Regions from separate parts of the Homo sapiens genome. Here regions 2 and 3 are each linked to region 1. The links are contacts of gene promoters, found by promoter capture Hi-C in blood cells and fetal thymus (Javierre and others, 2016). All regions are on one chromosome and are shown on one strand. Each heading gives the region's core, a stretch centred on a gene start or on the middle of the fragment in contact. The rest is flanking DNA. Distances are from core to core; before and after follow the strand shown.

Region 1 (5,018 bases), core at 1,513-4,012:
CAAACTCATGGCACTCTACAAAAATATTTCAATGAAAAAAATTTAATTTTTTTCAAGATTTATTATGCTCTTCACTTGTATAATGTACAGATTTCCAAACAGAACACTGCATTTTAGGTAGGGGTGTTCATTTAAAAGTCCTTAACAATTTATTTTTATGTGGAAAATGGATGATCTTCACCTGCACTCTCAGTATACGTGAAAGATTTGTATAACTTTGAAATTGCTTCTGGAGGGTTTCATTTTTGAAATTGAACAATAGTCTTCTGCAGTCACACCCTCTGAAAACCTGCCAATTTCCATTGAACTGATAGCACTTTATCCGTGTGTATTCTCAGATTGCTGAGCTAGAGAGACTGTTGATGCAGAACCAGCATGGCAAGTCTCTGTTCCAACAATTCTTGCCACAGACTGCCTTTTACAGAAAAGCCACTCTCAGAATTATTTTAGCCCTGTTATGGAAAAGATACTCAATGAGAGAACGTCTTTTGTTGTTCGGTTGTGATAGGCGCTTTGCATTTTAAAGCATGATGACATTTTCTCAAATCACATTATGTCAGGCCCAAGCGTATAGGTGCCTTGCTTAGCTTTGCTTTTTTGTTAAGCCCTATCAGCAAGCCTGAGTAAATTCTGATACAGGATTTTGAAGAGAGTTAATAAATTAGCATTCTAGTGAAAGACTGCAAATCATAATTTTCAAATAAAAAGTTTCCTTTGTCAAAAATCATTTTAGACAATTTATTTTTTACTCTATTAAGAAAATAAGACTGTAATTCTATTTGCAATGCAATGTCTTTGTTCTATTTTTGTATTTTAAGTATGTGAGACTTCAAATGAAAAAAATATCTTCTTATCGCAGCAGTTTTTCAAGCAAGTAAAACTGCTTCAAGCAAATTTTCTAGGCCTGAAAGCTCTGTGGCAGAAGACCATACCTCAGGAGTCTATTCCTGGACATTAGATTGGGCCTTTCCATGAAGCTGAGTGTTAGCTCCTGTCTTTTGGTCATGGCTGGACTCCATATAAGGTATTCATTCACTATCATCTAGAGTGCACATGAACTGGAACAAGAAGCAGAAATGTGACCCTTGATTAAGATCTGTGCTTTCTCTCATTACTCGTGTTAAGTAGGGCTCTTCTATTCCAAGTATTATTTATGTCCTGCAATTGTTGTAGAAAAATGGCCCTTTCACTCTTAGCAACAACATGGAACTTAACAAGTGGTAATTTAATAGATTGGAGAGTAAAAATATAATTTGAATGGGTGCAGAGTCAGGTCTTTTCAAGTTGAAAAAGCATCCTTTTTCAGGATCAGAAGAAAAAATTGAATAATGAAGTGAATTCAAGTAAATTGATACATGAGTTGAACACACTTCTAACAGAAGACTTTTGTGGGCAAAGGTAGGAAATAGGAAGTTGTGACAAGGAAACTTAACAGAATGGATCCAAAGTTCATTTGGAAAAATAACTTTGAGAGAATAGTGATGAAACCTTTGAAAGGGGGAGAAAATAATAAAGGAGAATTTGCCCCAGTAGATATTTTAAACAATGATAGTTTGAGATAATTAATAATGTTCTATTGCAGAAATACACTGACTATTAAATGGGAAAGGACTACCGCTAGCCCACATGATGCCCAATTCTTTCCAAGGAAGCTCTGCAGGTGCTTGGCTAGGAGCCGAAGATGCCTTTGTAGTTAGAAAAGATATCCCTTTCTTCTTGCTCGCAAGCTCCATTGGCTTGGCTGGCAAAAGAGCTTGGCTGGATTTTATTCTGCACTGGACCTTTTTTAGGTGTCTTACTGCATTTTGCATGCTGTTTGACCACACCTGGAAGTTCTGATTGAACAGACCCTGTTTTATATCTAAGTTAACATATGATAAAAATTACTGCTAAAATCACTGGACAAAGAATGGATCTATTCAATATGTGGTGTTGGACACCTAGGTCATTATTCTGGGGGAAACAAAAGCCCTATCTTTAGATTTCACATCAGAATAAATTGAAAAACGAAAACTACAAAATACTAGAAGAAAATATTGCTAATTAGTTTGGGTGAAATGTCATTATATTTTTTAAAAACTCAAGAAATCATAAACCGATTACATTTAAAGAAATTCTACATAGTTTTAAAATAGAACAAAATAATTTAATTATTTTAATTAAGTTAATAAGACAAATACCCGTTTTTTGGCTAGAGGTTAATATATTTACCTCATACAGAACCTTTAAAAATCAATAAGAAAAAGAAAAAATATATGAAACAATAGAGAAAAGAGAAAAATGTACAGAATATATAAATAGCCACCTCACAAAAGAAAATATAAACGGTTATTAACTTTATGAAAACTTATTCAGTTTTATTAACAGTGAAAGTAATAAAAATTAAAGCGATTGAGCTGCTAATTTTTCACTAAGATTATTTGAAAATTTAAGTGTTTGGAGAAAAAAAATTAAGGGCCAAGATGGAATAGTTTACATGATGTCATTTAGGTAAACGAAAAATGCATATGAAAATAAATATTTTGAAAGAATACTTACAAAAAAGTAGTAGTATGGGCCGGGCGCAGTGTCTCACGCCTGTAAGCCCAGCACTTTGGGAGGCCGAGGCGGGCGGATGACGAGGTCAGGAGATCAAGACCATTCTGGCTACGGTGAAACCCCGTCTCTACTAAAAATAAAAAATAAAATAAAATAAAAAAATTAGCCGGGAGTGGTGGCGCGGCGCCTGTAGTTCCAGCTACTCAGGAGGCTGAGGCAGGAAAATGGCGTGAACCCGGGAGGCGGAGCTTGCCGTGAGCCGAGATCGCGCCACTGCACTCCAGCCTGGGCGACAGAGGGAGACTCCGTCTCAAAAAAAAAAAAAAAAAAAAAAAAAAAAGGAGTAGTATGTACGTTATACTTCCACATGAAAAAAATGGAAAGAAAATTGTTAAGTGTCTGTGGGTGCTGGGTAATGCCTTTCCTCTACTCCTGGTTTCCATGCAAAAATATTTTACTGGGTCTTTACTTACTTGCCCTTGGAGAGATGTTATGACATTTGGTAGATAAACTTAGGAATAAACTTGGGAAGAATTGCTGGGCATGCCAGGCTCAACTACCTTTCTCTCTCTTTCATTCTTTGGAATAGAACTCAAAAAACAATTTAAATCCTTTTTCAAAGGCACTGTCTCCTTTCAGGTTAGAAGGAGGCCAGGAACTACGTTGACTGAGGCTGCTGTTTCAGTTCTTTGCTTTTGGATCTACCAATTCAAATCCGTTATCTGTCAATCATAGAGTAATATTTTGCTCTCATTTTTTTGGTCAATTTATTCCCCACCCAGGCATAAAGAAGGGATACTATTTATCCGGGTCTCTCAGAGGCCTCAACAAACCTTGGAGCATATAGAGAAAATGTGAGCAATAGGTACTTTTGGTGATGGGAATACAGGTGATATTTATTTCCCTTTTGCAGTTGCCCTCCTATTTTTTTTTCTTTTTTTGCAATGGTCATGTTTCATGTTCTTAATCAAGAAGATCAAAATAAAGCGATTCTTTCAGAATGACAGATAAAATGATAGAGGTTTGAAGGTAAATGTAACACAGTAACTTTGGAACCCAGAGCCCCTAGGAACTCATAGGATATTTGGCCACTGTTACACATGACAAACAGAAACATGACCCCCTTTCAAATCACATGACTGAAATTTGAATTTCAGTCTTGGTTTTCATTACAGTTTTTAAAAAGTTGTCAAATACTTTAAATGTTGGTTTTGCAGAAATATAGGGCTAAACAACCAGCATATTTTTTGTGTGCTTTTGCAATAATCAGAAATAAAATTGGTTTTCTTAAGGTAAGTAACAGGTCGTTTTTTTGTCTTAGCCAAAGTTCCCTTAGTTAGGGTAAGAGAAACTTAATTCTGGTTTGAGCAAGAAAATTAATTTAAAAATACTGGAGGCCAGGCGTGGTGGCTCACACCTGTAATCCCAGCACTTTGGCAGGCCGAGGCGGGTGGATCACGAGGTCAGGAGATTGAGACCATCCTGGCTAGCAGAGTGAAATCTTGTCTCTACTAAAAATACAAAAAAAAAAAAAAAAAAAAAAAAAAATAGCCGGGCATGGTGGCGGCCGCCTGTAGTCCCAGCTACTCGGGCGGCTGAGGAAGGAGAACGGTGTGAACACGGAGGCGGAGCTTGCAGTGAGCCAAGATCGCACCACTGCACTCCAGCCTGGGCGACAAAGCAAGACTCCGCCTCAAAAAAAAAAAATAAATAAATAAATAAAAATAAAAATTACTGGAAAGCTGCTGAGTTTCTATCAGGGTCTATATGAACCTATGATGAATGTGAAGAACTTTCAAATGGAAATCTGAGGTATTTGCAGTAGGTAAAATTAGGCGTATTTGTCATCGTAGTGCCCTGCTAGGCTTCTGCAACCCTTTTCTTTGGCATCTCCCTTCTTCACTTCCTGGGGCATGCTATAAATTTGTTTTAAAATCTTGTTCCATTTGGTTCTATTGTTTTTAAAAACTTGGTTCTGACACTCTTGAGATTTTTATACCTCTAAGCCATTTCACAAAGAAGATCATATCAAAAGTCAGGTTATAAAAATTACAAAGCAATAGCAAGTTTAAAGACTTTAAACAGTGGGAGAAAATATAAAAGTGAGTAATCTTTAGCACTGTATGTAACGATTGGAAAAAGACAGTTATGAGGACTCATCTATCTTCATTTATCCATTCATGATGGATGTGCTTTGTAGCCATATTTTTTTTTCCCTCTTTAGGATCTTCCAAGTCTTATGGATAGGAAAGACAGATCTCTAAAGAGGCTATGATATGCCTTTAGGAAACTGAGGATGAGGCCGGAGTAGTAAATAACTCTTACTTAGAAGGAGTATATAGGGTCTCATCCCTGAGAACATGGGAGTTAGTTATGTAAATGTTCAGATGATTTTCAACATTGTATATGGTAAGGAAGAATTTTTTAAAAAGACCTTCTTACAGGTACTAGAGGCAAATGAATGAGAAATAAGTACATGC
Region 2 (4,899 bases), core at 2,174-4,673, 420 kb before region 1:
TCATTGCAACTTGTTAACTTATGTATTCACTGATTCATTCATTTATCATTGCTTGTGTACCTGTAAAGAGTGTCAGCTATATTCTAAATCTGTACTGTCCAATACAGTAGCCATACATAGCTATTTAAATTAATCTCAAACTAACCAAAACTAAAAATTCAGTTCTGCAGACATTCTAGCTACATTTCAAGAGCCCAAAAACTCCATATGGCTGGGGGGTAGTTTATTGGCCAGCACAGATATAGAACATTTCTCTTATCATAAAACATTCCATTGGACAGTCCTATTCTCAAGCAGAGGAATGTAGAGATACAAGTTGAAATCTCTGCTGTGAAAGCTCATGGATCATCAGAAAAAAAAATTAAGATAGAAGCATCTTCAAGGAACTTTCGGTTAACAAAGAATAAACATCTAAATGAATCTGAAGAGAACATGAAATGAACAAAATGATGCCTGACATGGATTTAGTCAGGTGCTCAGGGAAAAGCAAGCAAAGGGAATATCATTTGCAATGCTCATGCACCAAACATAACAACGACAACAAAAAAACTATAATTTCAAGGACATACAAATAGTTTGAAATGGCTAGAATGTGGAGTGATATTCGATGAGGTTTTCCAACAAGTCTCATGTTTGGTTTAGTTTGGTTTCATCTACAAAATAGGAATAATAATAGTACCTAACTCTTGAGGTTGATGCTATAATTAACTAATTTTAATATATGAAGCACTTATAACAGCTCTTGGTACTGGCAAGTATTTATAAGTATTAACAATTATTATTATCATTGTTATATAATGTATATTATTTTTAAAAGATTGGAAGTATGATCAGTGACTTCAGAGTAAGAAACAGAGGCACACTCCTCATCAGAACACCATAGCCAGTGATATTCAGGAAAAGAATTAAACTAAAAACCTCCTGATCCTTCTGTTTCTTATGGAGGGAGTGTGAATGGTGGGAAAAGGATGTCACTGCTTCTAGATATGCTGGTGGGGGAAAAGTCACAAACAAATAGGAGAAATAAAAATTAGCTTAGAGTACATAGAGCCAGAATATTTCCTGACTATTGCATGTGGGTGTGTGCTTTTAACTTACAATTATTTTCCTTTTTTTAACTTTACTTGATAAGAAAAAAACATATCAGAAGTATGAAGCTAAAATAAAACTGTGTTTTCACTATTTCTTTTTGTTTCTCTTTTTCCTGGTTCAAAAGAATCAAGATTAAAAACTGCCGAGAATATCCTAACACAGACTGTTCTTATAAGAATTTCAGTCGACGTTTGGAAACTTGAAAGGTTTGGGTGGTTTGGCTAAAGGTCAACCAAGAATCAAACATTTTAACTGCTTATTCAGACTGAACTTTTCAACCATCTCATGTTGTTCTTTTTACTACTATACAGTAATGATAAAAACCACTGTTTTTTTCTTAATTTACTAAGGCAAATATTTGCAAATACTATACAAATAGCAGCATTTAAATTTGTAACTAATTTATTTTTCTTGCATTAAGCTATGAGAGCAATGTAATCATAAAATCATTCATTATTAAAGTGACCAGTTTAATACTTCAAGCTATTTTACTCAGTAATAAAAGAGCTTCAATAACAAATGAAATGTTCTTCTTTCCTGAAGGAGCATAAATTATAAAAGTTTGTGAATTTGATTAATTTTTTGGTAGTTTCCATGAAGTAGTTGGTTATATTTGTGATTGATTGAATATAGGAGGGTTCTGATTTTACATGCAAGCTGATTTTAAGGGGTAAGAAAGCTTTGAATTTTTCTTTGACCCAAATCATTGGCAATAATTTTATGCATCACACTATTACTCTTATCAATTAGGTTGAGATTATCTTTATTAATTGTCTCAGTCACAATGCCCCAAGCCACAACTAGAATTTATAAATCAGAACTGCAGGAGAGGAAACCTGGTCCTCAGAATTTCTTTAAACTCTCACAAGTAAAACTGATGATCACCCTCTTAGAGCAGTAATTTTCAGTATCAACAGACTACCTTCTTTATTTCTGGATGGTAAATATAAAAGCCATTCATTTTGATAAAAGGATAAGATCAAATTTAAAACAAAAGTATTTATATATTACATAATTATAATGCAATTTATATAATAAAGTAATATGGATTTCAAAATATAAATCTTAGGCAGTACTACAGGAAAATACAAATTACATTAATCAAATATGTGTACTTACAAAGCAGTGACCTCCTTTTCCTATCACTCACACTATCCCCTCAAAAAAAAGAAGGGTCAGGAGGTTTTTAAATTGCTTTCCTGAATATCACTGGGTATGGTGTTCTGATGAGGCATGTGCCTCTGCTCCTCACTCTGTAGTAAGTGGTTGATCATACTTCCAATCTTCTAAAAATAATAGTAGAAATATAATAATGCTAATAATTGTTAATATTTATAAACACTTGATAGTGCCAGGAGCTGTTCTAAGTACTTCACATATTAATAATTAATTAAATTTTAACATGAAGAGTAAGAGTTAGGTACTCTTATTCCTATTTTGTAGATTAAACCAAACCAAACCAAACATGAAACCTGTTTAGAAAACTTCATCGAATTATCACTCCACATTCTAGCCATTTCAAACTATTTGTATGCCCTGAAAGTATTATGCTTTTTTTCTGTTTTGTCCGTGAGCATTGCAAACAATATTCCCTGTACCTGCGTAAGAGAGGGAAAATGTCTTCTGTGTACCCTTCTATGTTCTTTGGCCTATGAATTAAATTGACATAAGACAGATTAACAGGAGAAAATTATTTTAATTACATGCGTTTGCACTGGAGTCCCACAAAACATGAGATTCAAAGAAGGGTCAGATGATTGAAGCTTATATGGCATCCTGAGCTACAGAAAGGAATTCCATTCCCATATATGTCAAAGATGTCTCTGCCTGAGAGCTTTTTCTCAACTCACACGCTGTGTAAGGCTAGAAGTGACCACGATTAAACCCTTAGTTGTTGCCACTCATTCATTTATAGAAATGAATTGAAGGATAAGTGTCTCAGGTTTTTTGAAATTTGGATTAGAAAACTTGGCCATCTACCAGGGGTTTTCCTTAAGACTGAACCTTAGTGCCTCAGGGATAACCTGGCTAGTTAAAGCACCTTTTATTAATTTTGTTTCCTCTCCTATCTTACTTCCCACTTCTTTACTGATTTTTCGTGCAGTTAATTTGCAATCAAATCCTTTTCTTTTCTTTTTTCTTTTTTTTTTTTTTAAGATGAAGTCTCACTCTGTCGCCAGGCTGGAGTGTAGTAGCACGATTTCGGCTCGCTGCAACCTCCAACTCCCTGGTTTAAGTGATTCTCCTGTCTCAGCCTCCCTAGTAGCTGGGATTACAGGCATGCACCGCCATGCCCAGCTAATTTTTGCATTTTTAGTAGAGACGGGGTTTCACCATGTTGGCCAGGATAGTCTCAATCTCCTGACCTCGTGATCCACCCGCCTCAGCCTCCCAGAGTGCTGGGTTACAGGCGTGAGCCACCACACCCGGCCCAAATCCTTTTCTTGAAGTATGCCTCTAGGGAACTCAGCTAAAGAGTGTTGGTGAAGGATGAGATTCTGGAGTTAGATCACTTGCTGTGCAAATGTCAACAAGGCCCTCCTTGCTGTTAGTAACTGGGTTAATAATTATCCACAGCATCCTATACAATGCAACTACTCATATGGATTAGATTAGAAAACCCAGAAGACTTGTAGAATTTAGCACTGGTTTATGTAATAGCTCTAGTGCTTAAAAGAATGCTAATTATGCATATTGTGATATTGTTTGGTGATTGTTAACACCATAGAAGCCCCAAAGAAGGAAAGTAACAAACATAGAATAGCAAACAAAATGACTTATAGTGTGACTTTCAGAAAGTGTCCTTGGTGGCACTTTAGGAGACCCTTATCAATTCTGGCTAGAGACAGGAGTGTGTTGAAAACTACAATCTTAATTGTAACAAGCGCACACCACAAAGGAAGCTTAATTTACAGCCATAGCAGGGCTTCTCCTGTGTTAAAGCCAAAGCTGTGTTAACAAATAAATGAGACCCTTAGGCCAGAATATTTGGGTAGAGATGCATGCGAGAGGTGTTTAAACCTCTAGGTAGCCCTAAACAGTCTAAGCAGGATGGGAAGATTTCACTCTCCTTGCTGGAGAAACACAGCCTCATACTATTATGAGAAGGACTCACCTGAAGTTAAGGCCCTGCCAAATGATTCTTGGCCTCCTTTAAGGTGTCTCCACCACTGCTCACAGCTTCTAGCCCAATAAGGAAATTCAAGTCTCACCACAGCTCAGGTAAAGTATAGTTCCTGCTATGGGAGGGAAATTATACACTAAAAGAATTCTAGGTCCTGGCTAATATGTACCAGCAGAAATCTGTAGAACATGCTAGGCAATTGATCTTGAGGATGTGGGACCAGAAAAGATGAAGTAAAGGCCGGTAGAAAATTGCTGACATAGGGCCACTCACTCATCATTTAGAATTGAATAATGCCTTAAGAATGCTGGAGATAGGTCTAATATGTTTCAATAATTATTCCTTGAAGCTTGGAAACACCAAGTAAATGAGGTAGATATGTCAGAACTGCTCCAGCAATTAAGAAAGCAGACAGAAGTATCAGAAAAGTGAGCATGTACAAACAGATTTATTCTACAAGACCAGAAAAATCACCAGCGGACAATGTTTGAGGGTCCTGCAGCTGGACACCCGGGAAGGAGCTGGTTTTGGTCTGGTTTGAGCATCATGGAGCTGGACACCCAGGGAAGGGCTGTGTTTTTCTGGTTTGAGGGTCATGGGGCTGGACAACCAGGGAGGAGCTGGTGTTTTTTTGGTTTAGGGGTCATGGAGCTGGAGATACGGTGCGGGGGTGGGGGCAGTGT
Region 3 (4,714 bases), core at 501-3,000, 490 kb before region 1:
GCCAGCAATAAATTCCTCAAATTTTGTTTTTCTGAGAATGTCTTTATCTTCATTTATTAAAGATAATATTGATGAATATGAGATACTTAGTTGACAGTTTTTTTCATTTTAGCACTTTAAATATATTATATCTTTGCCTTTTGGCTTCTGTTGCTTCTCATGAGAATTCAGTTTTTAAACTTTTTGGGATTCCCTTGTATATCACAAGTCATTTTTCTCTCTGACTGCCTTCAAGACTTTGTCTTTGGCATCAACATTTTGACTATGTCTAAGTGTGGATTTCTTTGTGCTTAAAATATTTAGAGTTCATCAAAATTCTTAAATTATCTGATCAATGTTTTTCATCAAATGTAGAAAGTTTTCAGTCATTCTTGGAATATTTTTCTGCCCTTTTCTTTCTCTTCTTCATGGTTTTTCCATTATACCTTTGTTGGGGTACTTATTGGTGTCTTACTTTTCTCTGTGGCTCACTTCATTTATTCTTATTCTTTTTTCTCTATCTTCTTCCGATTACATAACCTGTATTGCTCTATCATCAAGTTTGCTGATTCTTTCCTTTGTCAACTCAAATCTACTGTTGAGCCAATTTAGTGAATATTTCATTTTGATTATTGCATTTTCAACTATAAAATTTTCATGCGGTTCTCCAAAAAACAATTTCTCTCTCTTTCTATTCATGGAACATTATTGCCATTTTTCTTTAATTTTTTTTAGACACGGTTTCTTAGTTCTTTGAATATATTTATAGTGGCTGATTTAAAGTCTGTGATAACTGCAGTATCTAGACCATTTCCAAATAAGTTTCTATTATCTGCTTTTTCTGTATATGGTTATGATTATCTCTGTTTCTGTGCATCTCAAAATTTTACGTTGCAAATGCAGCCTTTCAGATAATATATGGTAGCACCGCATGTTGCTGATCCCATTCACCCCAGGTTATGTTGTAGCTTTTTCATTGGCCATGTATTTATTTGCTTAATAATATTTAGTTGCCATTAAACATTTAAATAATATTTTATTTGTTTAATGGCTAGACTTTCTGCAGAGTCATTTCTCAGTACGACCATGTGACTTTTGATGTACTCGCTCAGAATTTTTCTTATTTTAATATTTCAGCCTGGTTATGTAGGTATTGTCCCTGGATTAGCATAGGTCATTTATTATTCAGGAGTTGTGCTTAATCCCTCTTCACCTGTTAGATTTTTAATCTTTATCATTGAACGTATTTGTGGTGTGGAGGCTGCTGTTAAGAGTCAAAGGAATCTGTTTTTGCCACGTCTTCACGCAAGTATGAGTAGCTTAGATTTTACTTCTCCATTCACTCCTGGAGGGCAACATCTTGGCCATACATACAATCTTCCAGGTTGCCATGGATACATGTAATGTCATTTTAAAGCTTAGTTTTCTAGGAGTTGCCCCTATGTCAAAATAGCTTTTTGTTTAGCTAGAAAATGGTCAGAGGTTGTGCTTAAGCTCTTGCGCCACTGAGACTTCTGCCCTTTGCTGATGCCCGTTGTTGTGGTTAAGGAATTCTTTCAAATATTCTTTACATTCTGCCCTGATTACTCCTGACAAGGTACAGTTTAGAGCATATAGACAGCCCTTCCAACCCTGTTGGCTGTCATCACAGGATAGACCTTCTTGGCTCACTCATTCTCTGCTTCTCTATGATAAAATTCTGATGCTCAGCAGTTTTGCTTATTAATACTTGTATCATGGAGTTATAGATATGTCTTCTTAATTGCCCTTCCCCAAAAACTCCATTGCTTTTAGCAGAATCCTTAGGCATGAAATCCTCCATAATTTATTACAAATAAAATTAGTTTTCTCATGTAGAGCTGTGGAGCTCTTCGCCCTTAGGTATGACCTCTCCAGCTTACCTCTCCCCATAGGTAGAACCTCTGCACTACTACACTAGAACTGGGCACAGGGACAGTAGCCTACATTTCCTGGAGTGACAGCTCTGCTTCGAGAGTGTAGGTTGGAAGGGGCTCTGGTCTTCTTGCCTTGCCTCTCCTGGTATGTAACCTATGCCCTATGAGTGAGCTTGTAGCTATTGTATAAGAGAACAGAATACAGTATTCTTGGTCTGTTGCATCTAGGGTAAAGCTTCACCCTTGTGATTAAAGGCTAGGTGAAGCAAGGGTCCTCTCAACCGCACCTGCCTGAAATACAACTTACATGGACTTAACATGGCTGAGGGTGGAATGAGAAATTCTTACAGCCTGTTCGCTCCACCTGCAAGTTGAAACCAAGGCCCCACCTGGAATCTGCAGGAGAGAGAGGACCGCATCTTCTTGGCTTCACCTTCCTATATTAGAGCTCCTGGAGTACTTTTTTTTCATAAGATGGAGCCTATGAGGGACGGGTGAGAGGTGGAGGTGGGGGTGAAGGTAGTTTGTGGTTCAAATGCCACAGATCCTTACTATCCTAGACAAATTTAGAAGATTTTCTTGAATAAATGTTACTCCTTTGTTCTCCATATGCCCACAAAAATTTTTCAGCTACCTCAGAGTAGCTTCTCCAGAAATACAGAGTTAACTCAAGGCAACGGCAACATGAGACACCTCAATTTGAGGGAAGCTTGTCCAAAATATTCCCCACCTCAGCTCTGAGCAAGTTGAATCTTTTCCCTGCAGCCTACTTGATTCTCAAAATGTCCCTGATTTGGCCAGTGGTTGCTTGCTTGAGCTGGCTCCTGTATCTTTTTGATGTGTCTCTCCCATTGTTTGAATATCTCTATTTTCAGGCACAAAAAAAACAATGTTTTATGTTCATGTGAATCAGGCATTTCTCCAAGGAGTTCTAATTCCTTTCTAAAGCAGTTTTAAGAGTATTAAATATAATCTCTAAATGTTGGGAGCGCTAATGGGATTTTCTTTCCATTCTTTCTTATTAAAATATTTTGGTAAAGAAATTTCCTATTGCCCACTCCAAATTTATCTGAGCCAAAAGGGGCTCAGATAAATTTATCTGAGTCTGACTACATATTATTTTCCCATTTAGCCTAGCCTTGTCATCATGCATTTTAACCAAGTCTTCACTAAAATAACTCATTAGCACCTTTTCTGTGATGTCAGTTTTCAAACCTGTAACAATATAATCTACTTCTTTCAAAAAGTTATCAAACTTAAAGAAAACTGAATCTGGAGTTTAAAAAATATAAGTTATATTTACTTCAGGGAAAAAATATCAAACTGTGTCTTGCAACTGCAGAAATTCAACCCATAACCCTATTTCATTTTCTATATTTTTCAGCTTTCTGAAAGTTGATCCATAAGTATAGTTACTTAAGTCATAACATCAGAAATAGACTTGGAATGAAAAAGAAATATGTCAATATGGTGTCTACATATTTTTCTTAAATATGAAAAAATAAAAGTCAAATTATTAAAATGAAGTGGTAGGTAACATATCACTTTTTTTAGTTTGTATAATGCAGGACTTTAAAAGCTATTTATTAAAAGAAATGAAATTACATTTTTATTGTTCTTCAAGCCTCTTCAAGGCCATTCTTTCAAACTAACTTTAGATACTCATTTATTCTACACTTGATTCATTACTGAATTTTATTCCAGTTCTTTGCCCTTGTGTTTGAGGTGGTCATCTCAGATGGTTAGCTTTTTTTCCTCATGAAACATTTTTCTTTATGTTGTAATGACTTCATATTTTCTATTATAAATTCTTTGGAAGTTAGCCCTAGTAAATAAAATTAAATCTAATTTTCTAAAATGTCTTTATAATTTGTACTCAGTTACACTTGATGGTAAGCAGTATTTATTGAACATACAATTCTAATGAAAATTGTCATAGTTATCTGTTCTCTGAAATTCTCTCTGGTAAAATTCTAATCTATCAAGTTTAAAGAAATTGATTTCTCTCATTTACTACCACATTGCTGAAGATTTAGTCATTGATTTTTTTCTCACAAATATAAAACCTAAAAAGAACATTATTTATTTACTTATTTATTTCTATTTATTTATTTATTTAATTTATTTATTTATTTTTGAGATGGAGTCTCACTCTGTCACCCAGGCTGGAGTGCAACGGTACGCGGTCTTGGCCCACTGCAACCTCCACCTCCCGGGTTCAAGCGATTCTCCTGCCTCAGCCTTCCGAGTAGCTGGGACTACAGGCCCGTACCACCACACCCAGATAAGTTTGTATTTTTAGCAGAGATGGGGTTTCACTATGTTGGCCAGGCTGGTCTCGAACTCCTGATCTGATGATCTGCCCGCCTCGACCTCCCAAAGTAGTGGGATTATAGGCGTGAGCTACCGTGCCTGGCCAAAAGAACATTTTTTAAAATCACCTTTTTGGATGCAGCAGAGGATAAACATATGACTATTTTAAAACAAATACTTAATAATTAAGTAAATCTAGATGATTCTTAGTATTTTAGCTAAAATTTTTTTACCGCTTTGTATTACTTGATTTGTTCATAATTTAAAAGGTTGAAATTACAAGAACGTGGCTTTAGAATGTCCAAGACATGAACTCAGTATTTACATACTATGCAGGTGATTCTGGGAAATCCTTTAGCATGATGGATCCTTTTTCCACTAAAAAATAGGATAGGCTGGGCGCGGTGGCTCACACCTGTAATCCCAGCACTTTGGGATGCAGAGGAGGGCGGATCACGAGGTCAAGAGATTGAGACCATCCTGGCCAACATGGTGAAACCCCTTCTCTACTAAAAATACAAAATTAG

The links. The method cuts DNA at HindIII sites, captures the fragments that hold promoters and counts their contacts. A CHiCAGO score of 5 or more calls a contact.
Region 2: a fragment that was not itself captured here is called in contact with the fragment with the promoter of LINC01090 in region 1 in 1 of 17 cell types (M1 macrophages); the score reaches 6.1 in M1 macrophages.
Region 3: a contact is called between a fragment that was not itself captured here and the fragment with the promoter of LINC01090 in region 1, in 1 of 17 cell types (M0 macrophages). The highest score is 5.3, in M0 macrophages.

Annotation. Positions count from the first base shown.
Region 1 is chr2:188,284,929-188,289,946 of GRCh38, forward strand. It overlaps LINC01090 (long intergenic non-protein coding RNA 1090), which reads right to left and starts at 2,763. Exons shown (of 3, transcript NR_126396.1): 1 at 2,539-2,763. The HindIII fragment of the contact is 11,348 bases long and covers 1-5,018 here.
Region 2 is chr2:187,861,594-187,866,492 of GRCh38, forward strand. No RefSeq gene overlaps it. Among named protein-coding and RNA genes, the nearest start is that of TFPI, 310 kb to the left of the region's middle. The HindIII fragment of the contact is 1,140 bases long and covers 2,854-3,993 here.
Region 3 is chr2:187,798,383-187,803,096 of GRCh38, forward strand. No RefSeq gene overlaps it. Among named protein-coding and RNA genes, the nearest start is that of TFPI, 250 kb to the left of the region's middle. The HindIII fragment of the contact is 713 bases long and covers 1,395-2,107 here.